Linked DNA regions of Homo sapiens: region 1 is linked to region 2. Evidence: promoter capture Hi-C in 16 types of primary human blood cells and fetal thymus (Javierre and others, 2016). All regions are on one chromosome and are shown on one strand. Each heading gives the region's core, a stretch centred on a gene start or on the middle of the fragment in contact. The rest is flanking DNA. Distances are from core to core; before and after follow the strand shown.

Evidence for each region. Contacts are between HindIII fragments. The CHiCAGO score rates a contact against its expected background, and 5 or more counts as called.
Region 1: a contact is called between a fragment that was not itself captured here and the fragment with the promoter of DDB2 in region 2, in 1 of 17 cell types (erythroblasts). The highest score is 5.1, in erythroblasts.

What each region holds. Positions count from the first base shown.
Region 1 is chr11:46,855,180-46,859,976 of GRCh38, forward strand. It overlaps LRP4 (LDL receptor related protein 4), which reads right to left. Exons shown (of 38, transcript NM_002334.4): 38 at 1,538-4,136. The coding sequence ends at 3,804. All of the region lies in intron 2 of LRP4-AS1 (LRP4 antisense RNA 1), which reads left to right. Among named protein-coding and RNA genes, the nearest start is that of LRP4-AS1, 11 kb to the left of the region's middle. The HindIII fragment of the contact is 414 bases long and covers 2,830-3,243 here.
Region 2 is chr11:47,212,414-47,217,619 of GRCh38, forward strand. DDB2 (damage specific DNA binding protein 2) reads left to right here and starts at 2,561. Exons shown (of 10, transcript NM_000107.3): 1 at 2,561-2,850; 2 at 3,923-4,059; 3 at 4,445-4,636. The coding sequence starts at 2,724. RefSeq lists enhancers at 1,165-2,001, 2,002-2,837, 2,044-2,283, 2,125-3,324, 2,614-2,893 and a silencer at 2,354-2,563. The HindIII fragment of the contact is 21,566 bases long and covers 1-5,206 here.

The sequences.
Region 1 (4,797 bases), core at 1,787-4,286, 360 kb before region 2:
TGACAGCTTCAGTTTATCCAGAGTCCTTTCTATGGGCCAGAGATCCTTTCATTTTAGATTCCACAGTTTGTTCATACACCATAGACAGACCGTGACTGTATTTTGAGTGAGTTTGCAAAAATATGGCCAGTTTGTTAGAACTTGACCCACCATCTGCTCACTTATCAGTTTCAGGGTTTTTTTGTTTTGTTTTTTTAGTGACAAGGTTTTGCTCTGTTACCCAGGATGGAATGCAGTGGCGTGATCATAGCTCACTGTAACCTTGAACTCCTGGGCTCAAGCAATCCTCCTGCCTCAGCCTCCCAAGCAGCTGGGACTACAGGCATGAGCTACCACACCTGACTAATATTTTTAAATTTTTTTGTAGAGATATGGTCCTGTCATGTTGCCCAGGCTGATCGTGAACTCCAGGCCTCAAGCAATACTCCTTACTTCTGTCTTGGCCTCCCAAAGTGGTGAGATTACTTTGGTGTAGCCACTGTGCCTGACCCTAGTTTCAGATTTTATACCAGAGAACTAGACAAGGAATTCCCAACCTTTGTTTTATCCCAAGATGTCCTCCTTTTCTGCTTTTTTTTTCCCTCCCAAAGAGAACAGTGGGGGTTGGAGGGATGGTTATCCTTGGGCTATTCTACTTGTTTTTGTTCTGGCACACCTACTCCTTACTACAGTTAGAAAAATTATACACTGTAGCTTATACTCAGATCTCTGGTCACTTAAATACAAGAAGCTTCAGTCTTTCTTACTTTCATTTTTTGTCTTTTTTTGGGATGGTGGTGGTAATGGTGTTGCTAGACTCTAAGCTCTGTAAGATTATGTCTTTGTTTAGGCATGGGCAGTGCCTAGCCCATAGCAGATGAATGAATGAATGAATGAATGAATGAATGGGGATATTATCCTATAGATGGTGTGTGGTTTAGAAAATCAACTATTGAGACTTGACATGAAATTCTACATCGGGCGTTGAGATTAACATGATTCCCAGTTTTCACTGAGGGATATCACATCCAGAGAACCTGAGAAGGGATCCCTAGCTCCTTGTTCTAGCCTTGAGAAGTAGTGGATGAGCTATGAAAAGACAGCTTTTAAAAATAAATGAAATCCTAGTGATAATTTGATCCACTCTCAGACTAACTATGAAAGTTGACTAAGATCAAACAGAGCTAGTGGCAGATCTGGGACTGGAATTAGCCCTCCATGTCCCCAGCTCCAGTACTTTTCTTACTACATGAGATAGTCTTGCCAGTGACCATCACTGCAAGGCAAAGTAAAGTTCTGTAACAAAGACCTAGAACAGAAATAGAAGATACATGGTATACATGCCATGACATTTCCTTCCAGTGCACAGAAGAGATGTCACTAGCCATATGACATTCTTCCCATTGGGTGCGAATAGGCCCTCAGGCAGCCACTACCAACCAGTCAGAGTCAGCACTCAAGAGGAAACCCATCTACCATTCCTCTTCCAGAGGAAATAAAGGTTTCATCAGTCAAGGAACTCTGGCCTCGACCTGTCTTCTCCAGATGAGCTGAAAACTCCAGCAGGAACCTCACACTCTTTATTGCTCTTCACTGTGCCCACATCCACAAAGGACTTAAAAGTGATGTCTGTAAGCAGGTTTTCCACAGCATGGGTCTGCCAGACAGAGCAGGTGCAGGATTAGTCATGACTCCAAGCCAGGCAAGGTGATTAAGAAAAGCTAAATTTATATTAAATTATCATAAAGTCCTAAAATACTGAACATAGTGGTTAAATAACTCCAGAAAGTCCAATCTCTCCAGTGAGTAACGTTAAAACCATTACACATGAGCATGGGAGAATCGCTTCCATTAGTTTAGGACAGAGAGATTTTGCTTTTTACAGAGTAAATCAGTGCTCAAATAGATACTTCCTCAAATATGTCCTTTCTACATTCTGAACAGCCCAAGTGCAATAAGATCCTTCCCCCTTTCCAATCAAGAAAATGCCACTTTTCTACTTGCTCTTCCTCCCCAGACGTGAGTCTAAGGACCCAAAGTGCTCACTCCTTTACTGCTTGTTAAGTGTAATGTGGGGAGGCTCAGAACTGGGGCTGACGCTACTGAGAGCAAGGCTAAGGGCCTGGTATCTCTCTCTAGCAGTCTTAGAACTGACTAGAAAAGAATTGATCTTGTCCTTTTTCACTTTGGTAGCTGATTTCTCAATACCAGTAACCACAGGAGAAGTTTCAACTCAGGAAACTTCCCCTAGAAATTCTCCCCTCCATTCCCAGCCCCTGTTGTTCTCTCCTGCCACTTCTAATTCCTGGGGGAGAAGAGGTCTGGGTCTGCCATGGGCTAGGAGGGCCTCATCAGTGGTGCTCTCTACCTTCCTACTCCTTACCCACCTCTTTGTATTTTTATTTATTCAGCCCTCCCACCACAGGACTTTGGAGATTGCTGGTGCCACAAGGCTTGGTCAGAAAAAGCAAATTAGGCAAAAAAACAAACAAAAAAACCCCACGAAGAACAGCTAGGGAGACGTTTTAGGGCAAAAATAAGTCTCAATTTCCCTGATACCAGGCTGAGACACGTGCCCTTTGTGTGAATGAGCATGAACCAAGTGATGGCATCCCACATGGAAACTAAGCCCCTTAGCTGAGGGGACAGCTGGAAGAGGAACATCACCACCCCGTAGCCACAGGCTTGCTGTCCACTAACTTAGATCCCTGAGCACTTGAGAAAGAACATAGGAAGTTCAACAGGAAGTTTGACCCTCATGGATACTTCTCTTTAGGCCCTGGGTTTCCCAAGTCTCCAACCTGATCGTTCTTTCTGACCATTTATGACAACTTCTGGTTTTTCTTTGAAAGCTTGTTTCTAGGTCTCTTCCCCAGAATCCCAGGACATGAGGGAGAGAGGGGTCAGGAGGTATACCATATTTGGTCTAGGCAGAGCTTCTTAGACTTTTCAGAGACTCAGCCCCCAAGGCCTAACATTCACTCAAGCCACTGGCTCACAACCTGGTTAATTTGAGCAAAGACTTAGGAAAGGTACTGGCCAGTGGTGGCACCAGGAGGGAATTCCTATTAGCCAGTAGCCTTGTGATAGGGGACCCAGTTATCTGAATGTAGAAACAGCTCCAGACATTCTAGGAGGAGGAAGAACAGCCTGAGCCACCCCCATCTCACCAGTATCTGCTGCTGAAAAGGCAGTGTCTCTTAGGGCAAGAATAATGTCCACTGCCAGCAATGGACCAGACACCCAGATCCAACTACCCCCCAAAGCTTTTTCATGTTACTAACACACTTGAGGCTGGAGGTTTCCCAGATGCCCATACCTGCTGGGCTGATTCTTCCTTCTTCTCTCAGCCTCTATCCTTCATCCCTGTCTTTACCCACACCCCCATGTCCCAGCCCCTGATGGGCAAGTTCTCTCAGAGAAGCAGTCATGCTGGCTGTGATGGGGCAGAGCGCAGTCCTGGGTCATCAGCTGCATCAGCACTGAGAAGCAGGCACTGAGGGTACTGGGGAAAGGGGAGGTGGAGCTCTACGCTGGTGAGGAATCACGAATAAGCAGTTTCAGGGGGCCCAGGATGGAGTACAAGATGTGAGGTTCATGGTAAAATCCAGGTCTAAATTCTCGTGATGTGCCATCATTTCTTGTGCACAGGTAGTTATGGACTCACGTGGTAAACAGCTCCGGTGAAGGCTTAGGAACAGTTATGGGGTGGGAGGAGGAGGAGGACAAGCACACAGAAGCGGGGCCTGCGGTGTAAGCGAGCACAAGGACTAGACGTCCATAAAGGAGAAGGAACAGGCAGGCAGGGAAGAGAATGTGGGCATTTAGACCTGGCTCTCTGAGGAGAGCTTGCGTTCATGTTTCCAGCCCGTGTCTGGCAGAGAGCCTCGTCTTTCTGGAGTGGCTGCAGTATGGACGCTGCTACACTCAGACTGCTCTTCCTGTAACAGCTGCTCCGTCTCTGTGTCATCCAGGGAGCCAGAGCTGGCCTGGATGGACACCGTGTCTGTCTTCATGCATACATGATCCCGGAGGAGGCCCCCCCGTGAGCTTCGCAGTTGCTTGAGGTCATCCCACTCAGCATCATCCCCAGACAGGAGGCAGATTCCCTCTACGATCTTGATCTTCTCCTTGGTGTAGTTATGGTCAGGCCCTCCCTAGGGTGGAGAGTGGGCAGATATGGTCAGTCAGTTGGCCTTCTACAAAGGATCCCATGGTAAACTGAAAAAGGAAGTGGATGGGGTAAGAGTAGGAGTGAAGCGCACAAAAATCCCACAAACAAATGGGGAAATGTGATTAAGACAAGTGTATGAGGCCTAGCCTAAAAGGGGAGAGGCAGCTGTGATAATTATTACCATTACCATACAGGAGGAGGGAAAACCATGGCTTCCGGTCCTGCAGCAGCCACTCACTGGCTTTGTCACCTTAGGCAAATTATTTCACATTTCTAAAACTCAGTCTCTTAAGACTCTGCAGTGTGAGGAGAGTAACAGTATCCACACCTCACAACCAACTGCTGTCACCTTAAATGAGATGATACATGGAATGCAGTTATCAGGGAGCTTGACACAAGATGCACTATAACATGTTAGCTATGTTACATTGTTACTGTGGTTTATTAATGGGACATCATGCTGATATAAATCATCAAAAGCAATTGGCAAGAGCAATTAAATGTACATTTATTCAGGATTTTAAGCTACTTCGGGTGCTAGTTTGTATCTCTTTTTTCTAATTTTGTTAAGGAGAAAACTTGGGAGGTAAGACAGGGGACTCTAGAAAATCCTCTTATCTGGCCGGGCGTGGTGGCTTACACCT
Region 2 (5,206 bases), core at 1,311-3,810:
TTACAGGTGCGTGCCATGATGCCCAGCTAATTTTTTATATTTATTTATTTTTATTTTTATTTTTTTGAGTTGGAGTCTTGCTCTGTCGCCTAGGCTGGAATGCTGTGGCATGATCTTGGCTCACTGCAGCCTCCCTCTCCTCGGTTCAAGCGATTCTCCTACCTCAGCCTCCTGAGTAGCTGGGACCACAGGCAAGTGCCACCACGCCCCAGCTAATTTTTGTATTTTTAGTAGAGACGGGGTTTCACCATGTTGGTCAGGCTAGTCTCGAACTCCTGACCTCAAGTGATCTGCCTGCTTCATCCTCCCAAAGCGCTGGGATTACAGGCATGAGCCACTGCGCCTGATGGTATTTTTAGTAGAGAAAGGGTTTCACCATGTTGGCCCGGCTGGTCTTGAACTCCTGGCCTCAAGTGATTCACCTGCCTTAGGCTCCCAAAGTGCTGGGATTACAGGCTTGAGCCAATGCGATGGCCTACCATTAATGCATTTTTGTATATCTCCTCCCACCCCCACAAACTGTCAGGCACGGGGCTTAGTGGGTGGAGGAAAGGCCCAGCAATGCCTGAGTAAGCCCAACTCCTGCCTGCCTCTTCGCAGAAACTAGGGTGCATCCAAACTGTCTCTTCTCAGGCTAGGCAGGACAGCGCGGCCTCACCTGTGAACCTTCAAGACTTGGACTTTGGCTGAAGCGAGGGCGTAGGAGTTCTAAGTACCGCTGGCTGCACGCCCTCTGGCCCATCACGTCCCAGGCTGCTCCTAGGTGGACACCCAACAGGTTAGGCAAGTCTTAGTTAAAAGCAGTGAGAGGCCAAGAGGCTGGGCATGGTGGCTCACGCCTATAATCCCAGCATTTTGGGAGGCCGAGGCAGGCAGATCACAAGGTCAGAAGATCGAGACCATCCTGGCCAACATGGTGAAACCCTGTCTCTACTAAAATACAAAAAATTAGTCAGGCGTGGTGGTGTGTGCCTCTAGTCCCAGCTGCTCCGGAGACTGAGGCAGGGGAATCGCTTGAACCCGGGAGGCGGAGATTGCAGTGAGCCGAGATTGTGCCACTGCACTCCGGCCTGGGCAACAGAGTGAGACTCCGTCTCAAAAAAAAAAAAAAAAAAAAAGCAGTGAGGAGGCTGGGCACAGTGGCTCACACCTGTAATCTCAGCACTTTGGCAGACCGAGGTGGATGGATGCCAGGAGTTCTAGACCAGCCTAGGCAACTTAGGGAGACTCTGTCTCTACAAAAAATGCAAAAATTAGCTGAGTGTTGCGGCGCGCACCTGTAGTCCCAGCTACTCGGGAGGCTGAGGTGGGAGGATCGATGTCCAGGAAGTCCAGCCTGCATTGAGCCCACATCCTGCCACTGCACTCCAGCCTGGGTGACAGAGAGAGGCCCTGTCTCAAAAAAAAAAAAAAAAAAAAGAAAGAGAGAAAGAAAGAAAGAAAAAATAAAAACAGCCAACGACCAAACAAATAAAAGAGCAGTGAGAACCAGACACGGTGGCTCATGCCTGTAATCCCAGCACTTTGGGAGGCAGAGGCAGGAGGATCACTTGAGCCCAGGAGGTCCAGACCAACGTGGGAAACATAGCAAGACCTTGTCTCTACAAAAATAAAAATAAAAAAATTAGGCTTGGGGATACAGGTCTGCAAGCCTACTTGGGAGGCTGAGGTGGGAGGATCAGTGAAACTTGAGGTCAAGGCTGCAGTGAGCTGTGATTACATCACTGCACTCCAGCCTGGGTAACGGAAGAGAGACACTGCCTCTAGGAAAAAAAAAAAAAAAAAAAAAAAAAGGCAAGGAGTTCCAATCATTCTCCCTTCACAGAGAAGCAGCTTGGATTCGATGGGACTGTAGTTTCTGGAATCCGACTGCAAAGCTGACCGCTGGTAGAGCCCAGCTTCTAACTTAGGAAAGGCACTAGCTCTCTACAAAGCCGCCACTCCCCAACTACACCCTGTAGGGACCAGCCAATCCCAAAGCCCGAGCGGGCGTCATCACCAATTGCAAGGCGGGAGACAGAGCCTTGGCTGGCACCGGGCCTCCTCCCCGGACCCGCAGAGGCCTGGCAGCGCCGCGTTTGAGGAGGGTTCGTGTCAGGAAGTCAAGGCTGGATGATCGCTTAAGCCCAGGAGTTAAAGACCGGCCCGGACAACAAAGCGAGACCCCGTCTCTCCAGAAAAAGAAAAAAAGAGAGAGAGAGAGAGAAATTAGCCGGGCGTGGTGGCGTACGCTTGTAGTCCCATCTACTTAGGAGGCTGAGGTGGGAGGATCGCTTGAGCCCAGGAGGTGGAGGCTGCACTGAGCTATGATCGCCCCACTGCCCTCCAGAGTGAGCGACAGAGCCAGACCCTGTTGCTAAAAAAAAAAAAAAAATCCATAAAGCCGGGGACCATCTTTGCTCCAGGGAGGTCAGCTGACCCGGGCTGGCACTGGCCCTGGCGCAGTTCCCGCCCCTCCCGGGAGCGCTGGCACCGCCCCTTGGCACCACCCCCTCCCCGCGCCCCCGCCTTCCAGGAAGGGGCGGGGTCTCCGAGACGGGTGGGGCCGGAGCTCCAAGCTGGTTTGAACAAGCCCTGGGCATGTTTGGCGGGAAGTTGGCTTAGCTCGGCTACCTGTGGCCCCGCAGTTTTGTAGTCCCCGCCTTGTTTCTCCCCAGAGGCCTCTCAATCCTCCCTCCATGATCTTCGCATAGAGCACAGTACCCCTTCACACGGAGGACGCGATGGCTCCCAAGAAACGCCCAGAAACCCAGAAGACCTCCGAGATTGTATTACGCCCCAGGAACAAGAGGAGCAGGAGTCCCCTGGAGCTGGAGCCCGAGGCCAAGAAGCTCTGTGCGAAGGGCTCCGGTACTGCCTGTGCCTGCTGCTTGAATATTTCCGCCTTTTAGGGTGCTCGCGCAGGAGGCTGCAGCGGGGGATGGGTGCTCCGAGGCTCCCGAGGCCCGCGCAGGTCACGGGTGCCTCCGGCTGTGCATTCTACCTGCAGGTCCTTTGACACCAGAGTGTTTAGGTTTCAACACCTCTCCCGCTAGGTAACAGGAAGCAGATGAGCTCCGTAACAACAGACACACGGACTTGTCAGATTCCTTGTTCGTATCAGGGTTCTTGCACAGTTAGGACGGCTTCAGAGAATCCTACCTTTCCTGGCGCTGTGTGTGCTGGATTTCATAGTCACGCTTGTTAGCTGCACGTCCTCGGTGGTCAGTTGTGAGAGCCCCCAATTCCTTCCTCCTTAGAAAGCTCATTCTCTGAGGTTTACTGGGGCTTGAACCTGGGGCTATAAGGAGTTTCGAGACACTCAAAAACGAGCTGGGGCTTGTTAATCAAGTGGTTTTTGTCCATGAGAAGAAAGAATTGGTTGTCAAGACGTCGGACCTATAGTGATTGGGTCCTCAAATACAGTTTGGTGATCAGGAGTTGTTGCTTTATTGCTATTCTAATTTCACTTACCTCCCCAGAAGTAACCTAGTTAAGAGCATTTCCAGGCCTTCCTATTCCTTCTTTTCCTAAACGGTGACTTCTGCCATGCTGCCCTAAAATCTTTTTATTGTGCATTATATGTGATTTATAAAATTGTGACCCAGTCCCATCTCGAGTTTTGCAGCCCAAACTGGGAAGAGTTCTGCATTGTACTTTATCCTTGTGTGTTTCTTTGGCTGGGGTCTCAGGAACCCTGCACGACTGTATTTACTTTCACTTCAGACTTACTGTTTGTGGGAGTGTTTTGGGGAAGGGGCCAAATCCTCACTCATTTTTTTATTTCTGGTGCTCGTTGAGACCACACAGACATGGAAAGGCCGCAGGAGGTGATGAGACAGAGATTAACCGTGCCGAATGAAACAAGGCTTCCTTTCGGGGAATTCAGCAGAAAAACCTTTCGTGAGATTGGAGAGGAAAATATGTCTGTTCTGCTTGGCAGGTCCTAGCAGAAGATGTGACTCAGACTGCCTCTGGGTGGGGCTGGCTGGCCCACAGATCCTGCCACCATGCCGCAGCATCGTCAGGACCCTCCACCAGCATAAGCTGGGCAGAGCTTCCTGGCCATCTGTCCAGCAGGTAAGGCATTTTTTGCCTCAAGTCCTCAAGGGTTTACACGTGCATTTTTACTATTGCATGCTCCCAAATTAGATGATGGCTTGGTTCACCAGCTTGTCAGAGTGGTCCGATCACCCAGACTGTGGTGACTGGCCTACTGGGCACTCAGCCAGGTAAAAAATGTCTTATGTTGTAAAGGTCCCAGCTGGAATGCACTCTGCCCCTTTTGCTTTCCAAGATTATTCGTTCGTGTACATTGCAAATATTTTCATGCACAGGGCAGGCAGTTAGCTTTCCTTTGGTGGGAGGACTTGGATCTAGGGCTCATCCATGAAGGAGGCAGAGATTGGCAGTTTACCCAGAACTTGGGTTTTAATTCAACCTAATTCATTTCTCTCTGTGGCAGGGGCTCCAGCAGTCCTTTTTGCACACTCTGGATTCTTACCGGATATTACAAAAGGCTGCCCCCTTTGACAGGAGGGCTACATCCTTGGCGTGGCACCCAACTCACCCCAGCACCGTGGCTGTGGGTTCCAAAGGGGGAGATATCATGCTCTGGAATTTTGGCATCAAGGACAAACCCACCTTCATCAAAGGGGTGAGCAGTTCCCCATGCCAGGTCGTGCTAAAGAAGTGTTTGTTGGCTGGGTGCAGTGGTTCGCACCTGTAATCCCAGCACTTTGGGAGGCCAAGGTGGGTGGATCACCTGAGGTATGGAGTTTGAGACCAGCCTGGCCAACATGGTGAAACCCCGTCTCTACTAAAAATACAAAAATTAGCTGGGTGTGGTGGCAGGCGCCTATAATCCCAGCTACTCAGGAGGCTGAGGCAGGAGAATTGCTTGAACCCGGGAGGCAGAGGTTGCAGTGAGCCAAGATTGCACCATTACACTCCAGCCTGGGCAACAAGAGTGAAACTCCATCTCAAAATAATAATAATAATAATAATAAAAGAAAATAAAAATAAGGAGTGTTTGTTGAAGGCATGAAAGGAATATTGATGTCATCCAGTAATCATCAGGAAGAGGACTGGGATCAAAATTAACTGTGGGCATTTTCAAATACGTAAATGATGATGATATATATTTTTCTAATGCCTGTCCTTAAAATACTAGAAGATATAGACTATTGATCACCCATAGAATTGAAGCCCCTTCTGGGCTGGGCGC